Linked DNA regions of Homo sapiens: all the other regions are linked to region 1. The links are contacts of gene promoters, found by promoter capture Hi-C in blood cells and fetal thymus (Javierre and others, 2016). All regions are on one chromosome and are shown on one strand. Each heading gives the region's core, a stretch centred on a gene start or on the middle of the fragment in contact. The rest is flanking DNA. Distances are from core to core; before and after follow the strand shown.

Region 1 (3,187 bases), core at 487-2,986:
TAGAAGAATGCGTATTCTGTTGCTGTTGGATGGAATGTCCCATAAATATCTGTTAGCTCCACTTGTTCCAAAGTATAGTTCAAGTCTTTTGATGAGTCTCTTGTGGGCAGTATATAGTTGAGTCTTTTTTTTTTTATCCATTCAGCCCTGTTTTTTGATCAAAGAACATAATCCATTTACATTCAAAGTAGTTATTGATGGGTTAGAATTTACTACTGCATTTTGTTAATTGTTTAGTGGTTATTTTGTAGATCCTTTGTTCTTTTCTTTTTCTCTTGTTCTCTTTGTGATTAGATGATATCCTGTAGTGGTATGCTTGATTTCTTCTTTTTTATCTTTTATATATCTACTATAGGTTTTGCCTTGTGGTTACCACAAGGCTTACATTCATCTCAGTATGATTAATATTTTCCGTTCTCAAAAACCTTACCTGATAAAGTTCTGACTAGGACTCATGGCCCACTATAGTTTGGACATAAGTTATTTTTTAAGGAAGGTGATTAAATTTTACTAATCTATATTATATCAACCATTTAAAAAATCCAATTGGCAGTTAATTTAACAGCATTCATGGATGCCACTGGGAAGCAGGGAAAAGATAGGGAAACGGAAAATTAAGAAAAAGACATAGAGTCAGAAGACAGAAAAGAAAGGGAGAAAAAAATAAAATTGTATAGGGAAATGGTGAGATCACTGATAAGCTTGCACCTGTGGCTTCAGCATCCTGAACCTTATTCCTGAGACAGCCACCGAATGCCCTCTTGTGGCCGATAGTACATCCTTCCACGCCAACACACTAGTAACACAGAACTTCATTTAAAATGATAAAGCTACCTATGCCGATTGCGCTTCGCTTCCCTGCCCCTTCCCTCCTAACTGAGCAAAATTATCTCACCTAAATGAGCATTTCATGCTGCATGCTGTTATTCTTACAAGGCAAATCCTCTAGGGGTCCCTGTCACAAGTTAATTTGGTAATACACAATCCTCTACATTATCTAACCGAAAGAACCAGATTTCCATCCCAGGTACCTCAAGACAGCGTCCCTACTTCTTTTTTCTGGAGATTGAGGCTAAGGCCCATGCCTCCCTGTGAACCAGTAGGATTTTTCTGAAGAAGCTTTGAACCTGACTAAACGCACATGGCCATATGCAACACTTAAACGTTTCACCACATATTTGATTGCCAGCTAAATGCCAGATCCCGGGGTACGATGGAAAGCAAGAACAGACGCAGGCCCTTGCCTTCATGAAGCGGGGGTCTCAGGAAAGAGGTTACACGCCCACAAATGGAAACAGGTCGATTAACACCGTGAAAGAGATGACAGGGGGTTTCTGTGAGGGAGACGAAGCTTTATTAACAACCTGGCAAACAAGAACGAGAAACGCATTCCAGGTGGAGGGAGCAACACTTTTTAACCTACGTTATCAGGTAACAGGGATCCTATGTTCTCACGCTTGGTGAGGAATCTCCCATTGAGGAAGGAAAGAAAAATGAATCAAACTAGGGGGTGGCGGGGTAGTGAGGGGATTTTTGGCTTTCATTTTAGGAGCCAGGGCCTGCTACCTTCGACCACCTGAGACCCCTGAGCTGGCGGGAAAGCCTTGACGCAGCCGGCGCGCGCCTTCCCTTGAAGTTCTGGCGACGCCCCCACGCGCTCGGAATTCCGCAGTGTTTGTGCGCGCCGCTCGGCCTGGCGCAGGCGCAGACAGGGAGCAGGGTCCGGCCGACCGCCATTGCACAACGCGGAGGACTAGCCTGGGGTCACAGGGATGCCGCGGCTCCTCCGCTTGTCCCTGCTGTGGCTTGGACTCCTGCTGGTTCGGTTTTCTCGTGAACTGAGCGACATCAGCAGTGCCAGGAAGCTGTGCGGCAGGTACTTGGTGAAAGAAATAGAAAAACTCTGCGGCCATGCCAACTGGAGCCAGTTCCGTTTCGAGGAGGAAACCCCTTTCTCACGGTTGATTGCACAGGCCTCGGAGAAGGTCGAAGCCTACAGCCCATACCAGTTCGAAAGCCCGCAAACCGCTTCCCCGGCCCGGGGAAGAGGCACAAACCCAGGTAAAAATCGAAACCGAAGGCATGTTTGTTCACCTCTGTATATTTCTTATTCCTGCATTTGCTCTGCCAGAAGGTGAGCTTCCCCAGGAAGTGGAATTTGTGCCTAGTACACAGCTCTTTAAAAAATTGTAAAAAACAGTGTATTGAAAATATACAAAACTTCAATGAAGCGCTTTTTTTTTTAACTTGGAGGAAATAAATGTACACTTGTAAGTCTACATATTTATGTAAGAATGTTGTTCTTTTCTGGAGTGCCAGTCATCTGGCAAACTCCTTTTTGTCCTTCAAAGCCCAACTTAAGTATCATTTTCCCTGTGAAGTCATCATTGACCTTTTCATGGCCAATGGCTCCATTGTCCTTTCTACCACAGTATCTAGCACATAGTTGTATTTGACTGTCGTCATTGGCTACAGAATCAGCCCAACCTTGTAGAAGATAAAAATGCAGAGTACCTTGTTCAAAAAAGCAGGAAAGGGCCATGAAAATAAAGGTAGTAAAATATAAAACTGTTTTCCTTACTTGTCCATATCCCCTGGTCACGTACCAGGAGATAGGCCTGGTCCGTTCTCCTATCAGGCTTCATTTAAGAGTTTACGTACTTGTATTTCATTCACTTAAAGTTTCAAAGGTAAATTTATTCAGAACAACAAAGGAACATTTAAACCAAATGCAAGGCCTGTGTGACTACATAGGTTTCAGTCCCATAAAGTCAGCCCTATATACCATACTGTATTATAGGGACTATTTCATGCATATTTTTGTCTGAAATGCTTAGCAGATGGCCTAGCACATCGCATGTGTTTAATATGCGCTGAATTTATACTTGATGCTTTCAAGCAGTCTGCAGGAAGGATATTCTTGTTCCAGATTCATTGGTATATCTTACTATGTTTTTACATTTTGTGACTAAGACATTTTAGTCCCAGTATGATTTGTCATTTTAAAAGAAATTGCACTTTGTTTATAGTGTATCCATAGGAAGAAGATTACTGCCTTTTACAGTAATTCAGTTGATTTGATTTGGACAAATCTTGTAAAAGTGAAGATTTCTGAAATTAAGGAAATGAGTAAACTATCATGCCAAAAAGAGACCCTAATGTAGAGGACTGAAAAAAGTCAAACAAT
Region 2 (3,187 bases), core at 286-2,785, 190 kb before region 1:
GGAGAAAAGCATGAAGATTTTCTATCACACAGATACTGTCAAATTGTCCTTAAAACTACTGTACTCTTCTGCTTTCCCAAAAATAGTGCATGAGTGCACTCTCACCAACAAAGGATAGTATCAATTTTTATCTATATGAGACTCAAAAATGAGATGTTTGTTGTTTAAATTTTATTTTTCTACTACAAATGAAGTTCAACATTTTTCATAATGTATTTTTTATTTGTATTTATTCTTCAGTGAAATGCCCTTTTTCTATTGGGTTAACTTTATTGGCTTGTAGATTTTCTTTACTATTATTTGTTAAATCATATATATAAATATGATAGGCTGAAAGTATCAGTTTATATTTATGTATTTGTGTACACACACACACACACATATCCACTCACATGTGGCTGTTGAACACTGGAAATGTGACTAGTGCCTCTGAGAAACTAAATTGTTAATTTTAATTAATCTTAATGTAAATATTCAGTATGGCTAGTGGCTACCATGTTGAACAGCACATCTCTGTAGTAACTTTATATGTCTGGCAGGTAAGACAATTTTCAAAGTTTTCTTTTTTTGTATATTTTCCTCTCCAAGGAAATCTTACAATGAGCTTGTAAAGTTCACTAAAGTAATTTCTGATCAGATTTTGATTAGTATTTCTTCCTGGGTATTATATTTACAATATTGTGAATAACTATTAATGGATTTTGGCATATAGAAAATCTGTAATGTTTGTGTGTTGATTATATATTCAACCATTCTGCTGATTCTGATTAGAATCTTGTTGATTCTAATAGTTTGTTCAGTTTATTTTCTTGAGTTTTAAAGCTAGGCAATCATTATCTAGTTGTATTTATTTATACTTTTACTGTACTATGGTTAAAAAAATATGGCCTATGTGATTTCAACTTTCATGAATTTATTGGGATGTTTTATTGTGGCATAATACAATGTTCCCTAAATATTTATAAAGAATTTAAAAATATTTATTGGCTATACAGATACACACATATTAAGCTTGTTGATTTAATTGCTTAATCCTTAATATCACTACATTTTTCCAATTTAACCTGTATATTTCTGAAAGAGATGGTTAAATCCTACCATTATTATTTATAATTTGTAATTTTTTTTTGTATTCCCAACAGTTTTGCTTCATGTCATTTAATGTTTTGTCTGATTTATAAAAAATTCTTAACTCTTCTATCTTCTTCATTAATTATATATGCCTTTTATCAATGTTAAAGTGTACAACTCAATTAATTTACACAGACTGAACATATTCCTTAAGCTGCATCCCAACCCCTTGCAGTCACTAACCCCACTTAAGGATAGCCACTATCCTGACTTCCAAGAGCATGGGCTAGTTTTTTGTCTAATTTTGATCTTTTTACTTCTGGTTTATCCTTTTCTGTGTCTGGGTTCTTTTGTTCAACATTAGGATTATGAGATTCATTCATATTGTGTGCGGTGTTATCACAGTTTCTGTTGGACTCCCTCAGCAGGAGCTAAAACTGCAAGCCAGATAGAGAAAACATGCTGGCACATGAGGGGCATGTGTCTCCCTTCAGAGATACATCTGGGAATAGGGAAGGAAGGTTCTCATCGCTTGGGCTGCATTCTTTTCTTCTGTTCTGCATTACCTTTATTATCTCCCGTTCCAGATGTTCTCTTTATGCACCTTTATCCTTATCTATTACGCTGTTGGTTTCCCTCAAATGTCTGGTAGCCCTTGGTTGCCTGTTCAAATGTATGATGAAGAACCAGGTTGACTATCTTGAGGAGCTGGCATGGATTTTCTGTGCAGTCTGTGGGCCTTTTGGAATGTGCAACATGTGCCAACACAAGAGCTTCCCTTTAGGGTGGATGAGCAAGAAGCAGGCTGAAGAACCCCACAATTGCCAGAGAACAAAGGTTTACTCTGGGACGAAGCATGGTGTCATACTTCAGGTCTCAGTGGTACTGCCTTCTATTTTTTCTTTCTTTCTTGTCTGCTGTCGAAGTGCAGAATTGCCTCGATATCAGCTCTTCTCTTTCAGACCCCATCCCCTAGAATAAAAGCTTCCCCCAAGAGATTTGCCACTTTGGAGAAAATTTGGCTGGGGACAAACACTGCCACCTCTGTGTGTATTGGAATGGAGGGGCACCATTTGTTGTTACGTGGGTAGGTATTAAATTATTTCCAAGCTTGGAGCTTCTCCGGCATTCTTATAGGCAGAATAGTCCTCCCTAGAGTCTGCTTTAGGTTGTAGTTTCTTCTACAGAAACTCCTACAGGTTTTACCATCATTTTGATCCCATCTGCTTTCTCTCTTTCAGAAATTTCTCAACATTTCTGAAAATGTTCTTGCTTTCCAGCACCATTATGGAGATATTCTTTTAAAAAATATTGTTAGCTTATTTTTATATAGATAAATACAAAGGAGAAAAAAATGAATAGTCTCTTATGTCACTACCCAGTAATCCCTGCTTACATTTTTCCTTTTTAATGTATTTTTTAGTATAATGAGTGAACTAATAAATAAAAGATTATATAATACATTTATATGGAAAGAAGAAAAGATTACCATAGTACTATTATTTCAAAACAGCCTTGTTTAATATTTCAGTTTTTTTCTCTGTGCTATCTTTTTTTTTTTAGTTTACTTGTTATCCTCTCTAAAAGAATTTTATATTATGCTTTTTGCACTTGACAGTGTGTCTAAGCACTTTCCAGCACTGTGGCTAGCCTTCACAATGTAGGAAAGTCATTGTAACGGTTGCAGGATATTTTGTTGTATTTCATTACCTCCTTATCCACTGCCCTGCAATTGGACAGGGAAACAGATCTCTAACTTCCCAGGCAGCCTGAGTACAGATTCATTCTGAAATGAAGGCTTAAGGGATTTTATTTCTTTATAAAAATTATAAATTTTTGAATAGTTAATATGTGTACATGAATCAAAATTCTAAAAGAACAACAAGGTATATATTGAAAACTTCCTCTTACCCCTGTCCCCAGCCACCTGGTTCACCTCCTCAGATACATCCATTCCTAGTTTCTTGAATAGTCTTTCAAAGATAGTCTATACATAGTTAGGCATATTGGAATATGATTATATGTATGTATGTGTGTATGTATATACAGAAATGACAAAAGGTAGCTTACTATACCCTTTCTGTACCTTGCTTTTTCCATTTAACAATACCTTACA
Region 3 (3,187 bases), core at 242-2,741, 200 kb after region 1:
GATGGCTTGTCTAACCTTCTATCATTCAGAAAAAAACACAGAACCAATGCACACAGGAAGAATAGTACCTGGACAGTGTGATATATAAGACGATACAGACGAATGACAATCTGTTGAAAAATATCTCCTAGGTTTTATTATGCCTAAAATTCTCATCCTTAGTCCTAGTGATGGAGAGCTTTGGAAAAGTCTCCACTGATCACCCAACTGTCAAATCCAAAGGTCTTTTGTTAAACCGGAGAGAACAAAATATTAACAGTGGTTATTTCCACGTAGGGAAAGTATAAGCAATTTTCTTCTGTTTTTATAGATTTCTTATTAGGAAAAACACGAATACATCTTTTTAAGACCTTTTTTTGGATCTGATTCTTCTCATTTCTTGCCAATGATCAACATGTTGATCATTCCGCCTCCTAACCTATCCACTAATTTGCCTCTCATACTGTTTTTTTCTTTGTCTCCTTTACCCATTCCTCTCCTTTCACCCACCCGCTAATTATGGGCAATCCCACTCTTTTCTCTTAAGTACCACAGCACCAGCCTTAACTTCGCTAACAAATTCTAGTCATATGTCCCACTGTATGCTATCAATTTTCACTTGCCCATCCCACGGCCACCGCAAACTCAACATATCCACAATATACGCTCAACTGTCTACATCCCCTCTACCAGCTACTAACACTGCCATAACTATTTTTGTTAGTAACTGCCATTAATCAAACGGCAGTTTCTTTGTCATTAACTAGCTGAGTAACTTTGGACACATTTTTAAATCTCTCTGGTCTGAGTCCTAATATACAAAACATATAGACTTAGATGTTCTAAGATGTCTTGGAGAGTCAACACTCTTTGATTTCCTCCGTCACTGAAAAGCAAACCTTCAAGGTAAGGTAATCTTTAATCACTCTTCTCCCCTCCATTCTCCCTTCTTATCCAATCCATAATAATGTCTTGTGACATCTCTGCAATCTGACTTATTTCTAAGTCCTCATTACTTCAGGGCTCAATTATTTTCCTACCTCTTTCTACCATTCTCTTTCCAATTCATATGAGACCTAGCACTGGTGCTGCTTTGATTTTCCTAAAATACTTATTTCAGCAAACTCTTTCTCAATTCAAAACTTTTAAAGCTTCTCCATATCTACAGGTCAAAGTACATTCTTCTCATCCTAGCATTTAAAGACATCCATAATCAAATTCCAACTACATTTTTAACACAATTTCTTACTACTCTTTCACACAAATCTTCATTTCAGTCAAGTTATTTATGTACTGCTCTCTGAACATATCATACATATATACATATTTTGCCTTTGCTTACCCCCTCTACCAGTTCCTTCCTATTATGCAAAATCTCTGCTCAACTCAAGTGGTCTTAAATATCTGTAACTTTTATTATTTAGCTTATCTGCCCAATTATACTGTAAGTCCTTAGGGAAAGGAGCCTATTTTATATTTCTTTATTTCTCTTTTGAATACAGCCAAGTACCTTTTACATTGCAAGTATTAACAAATATTTGTTTGGTGACTACAGTTCCTTATCACACAATCAACATGTATTTCTTGAATGCTGCCCATGTGCTCTCCACTGTGTGTTGTGGTTTTTTTTTAATCTAAGGTACTGCTCCTCAAAGAATACACAATCAACTTGAAAAGATATGGCTAACACTAGGGAAATAACTATCAAACAACTAAAGCATGGCATATAATTAAACCATGTGAAAATGTTCTAAGACTAAAGAGCTACAGAAATAGAGGAAAAAAAAGAGGGATGGAGAACATGGGCAAAAATTAAAGGATAGAAGAAGCATAGCTTATTATTAGAAAGTGTGGAAATCAGCTTACAAGCTTAAGGACTAGAGATCCTTAGACAAAAGACTAAATAAATAGGGCAGGGATTGATAATAGACTATCTTAAAAGTCAGGAAAATTTAATAAGTAGAAAATGGTAAGCCACTGAAGGTTTTGGGGCAAGGGAATGCTATAATAAGGAGTATTAGAGTGGAATCTCTATTGAGGATAAACAGAAGGAAGGGACACTGAATTCTCAGAAGTTCAAATGACTTTCAATATTCTAGGCTCAGGAAATGTGTCCTGGGATTCACACAGTAAAGGAGGGAAAGCAGAGATATGAGAAAGAAAGGAAATATGGACATTTTGAATGGGAATAAGAGGTAAATGAAAGAAGTAGTTTAAAGATGATGCCTAATTTAAAGCCTACATGATTAGAAGAAAATTAAGGGGTAGAAAATGGTAACTTTCACTTGGGGCATTCGGAGTTTAAGGAGATGAACAGAAGTAGAAGCAGAAGACCAGTACAGGAAAAACCAGGAAGTGACTAGTACAACAAGTTAGCAATAGGATTAGTTTTAAAATGAAAGAACTGGGCAGAAGTTATAAACATATTACATAGGAGAGGAAATATATTAAGCCATGATCAGCTGGTACTAGCTTTATATCAATAATTTTATCAGAAAAGCAAACTAAAAGCTAAGGCAGAGGTTTCCAAACCCATTCAGGGAGCTCTGAGTCTTAGCAAATTTTTCACGACACCCCCAGGCCAAAAGAAATAGGTTTGAACAACTTACTTAGTAGTTATGTCCTTACAACTTAGTGTAGAGCACTGTAGAACTTATCAAACCTTAGAATCAAATTGGACAATACCACACTGTCATTTCCTGTTCTACATTCATTTTCATGTAGTAGTTGCTTTTTATCGGAGCAACCTCTGAAAATACATCTTTACAAAGACATGACATTGTAGAAACGGGTGTAGGTATCTAATATTGAAACCATGAACCAACTCAAAACACAAGTTCAAGCCTGAGGTGCTCTGGGCACCTTGGCACACAGTTTGGGAAACTGGGAGCTAAGAGGAGGGGTCTAAAAGGGAGTGGGGAAGGGTGGGAAATGTAATGGGAGAAGAGCAAAAGAAAGGTCTTAGCACAGTTAACCACAAGGGGGCAGCACAATAATTGGTAGGGGCAACACAATGGGGGTTTAAGCAGAGACACAAAGTCAAACCTTTCCATACAAAGGCTGTAATACTCCCTCACCAGTTTAAGACCTTGAAGTCCTTTATCTCTTTATACTAGAAAGGAGGAAACACGAGTTACAGGCAGATCACCTTATGCAGTCATTCTGCCCTTCTCTGAATCTCCTTTGCCTCCCAGCCGTGATAGTAGCC

Evidence for each region. Contacts are between HindIII fragments. The CHiCAGO score rates a contact against its expected background, and 5 or more counts as called.
Region 2: a fragment that was not itself captured here is called in contact with the fragment with the promoter of INSL6 in region 1 in 1 of 17 cell types (non-activated CD4 T cells); the score reaches 5.2 in non-activated CD4 T cells.
Region 3: a contact is called between a fragment that was not itself captured here and the fragment with the promoter of INSL6 in region 1, in 1 of 17 cell types (endothelial precursors). The highest score is 5.0, in endothelial precursors.

The regions. Positions count from the first base shown.
Region 1 is chr9:5,184,188-5,187,374 of GRCh38, reverse strand. It overlaps INSL6 (insulin like 6), which reads left to right and starts at 1,736. Exons shown (of 2, transcript NM_007179.3): 1 at 1,736-2,061. The coding sequence starts at 1,773. The HindIII fragment of the contact is 2,408 bases long and covers 1,354-3,187 here.
Region 2 is chr9:5,376,695-5,379,881 of GRCh38, reverse strand. All of the region lies in intron 3 of PLGRKT (plasminogen receptor with a C-terminal lysine), which reads left to right. Among named protein-coding and RNA genes, the nearest start is that of RLN1, 38 kb to the right of the region's middle. The HindIII fragment of the contact is 1,044 bases long and covers 1,014-2,057 here.
Region 3 is chr9:4,987,873-4,991,059 of GRCh38, reverse strand. All of the region lies in intron 2 of JAK2 (Janus kinase 2), which reads right to left. Among named protein-coding and RNA genes, the nearest start is that of JAK2, 4.2 kb to the right of the region's middle. The HindIII fragment of the contact is 718 bases long and covers 1,133-1,850 here.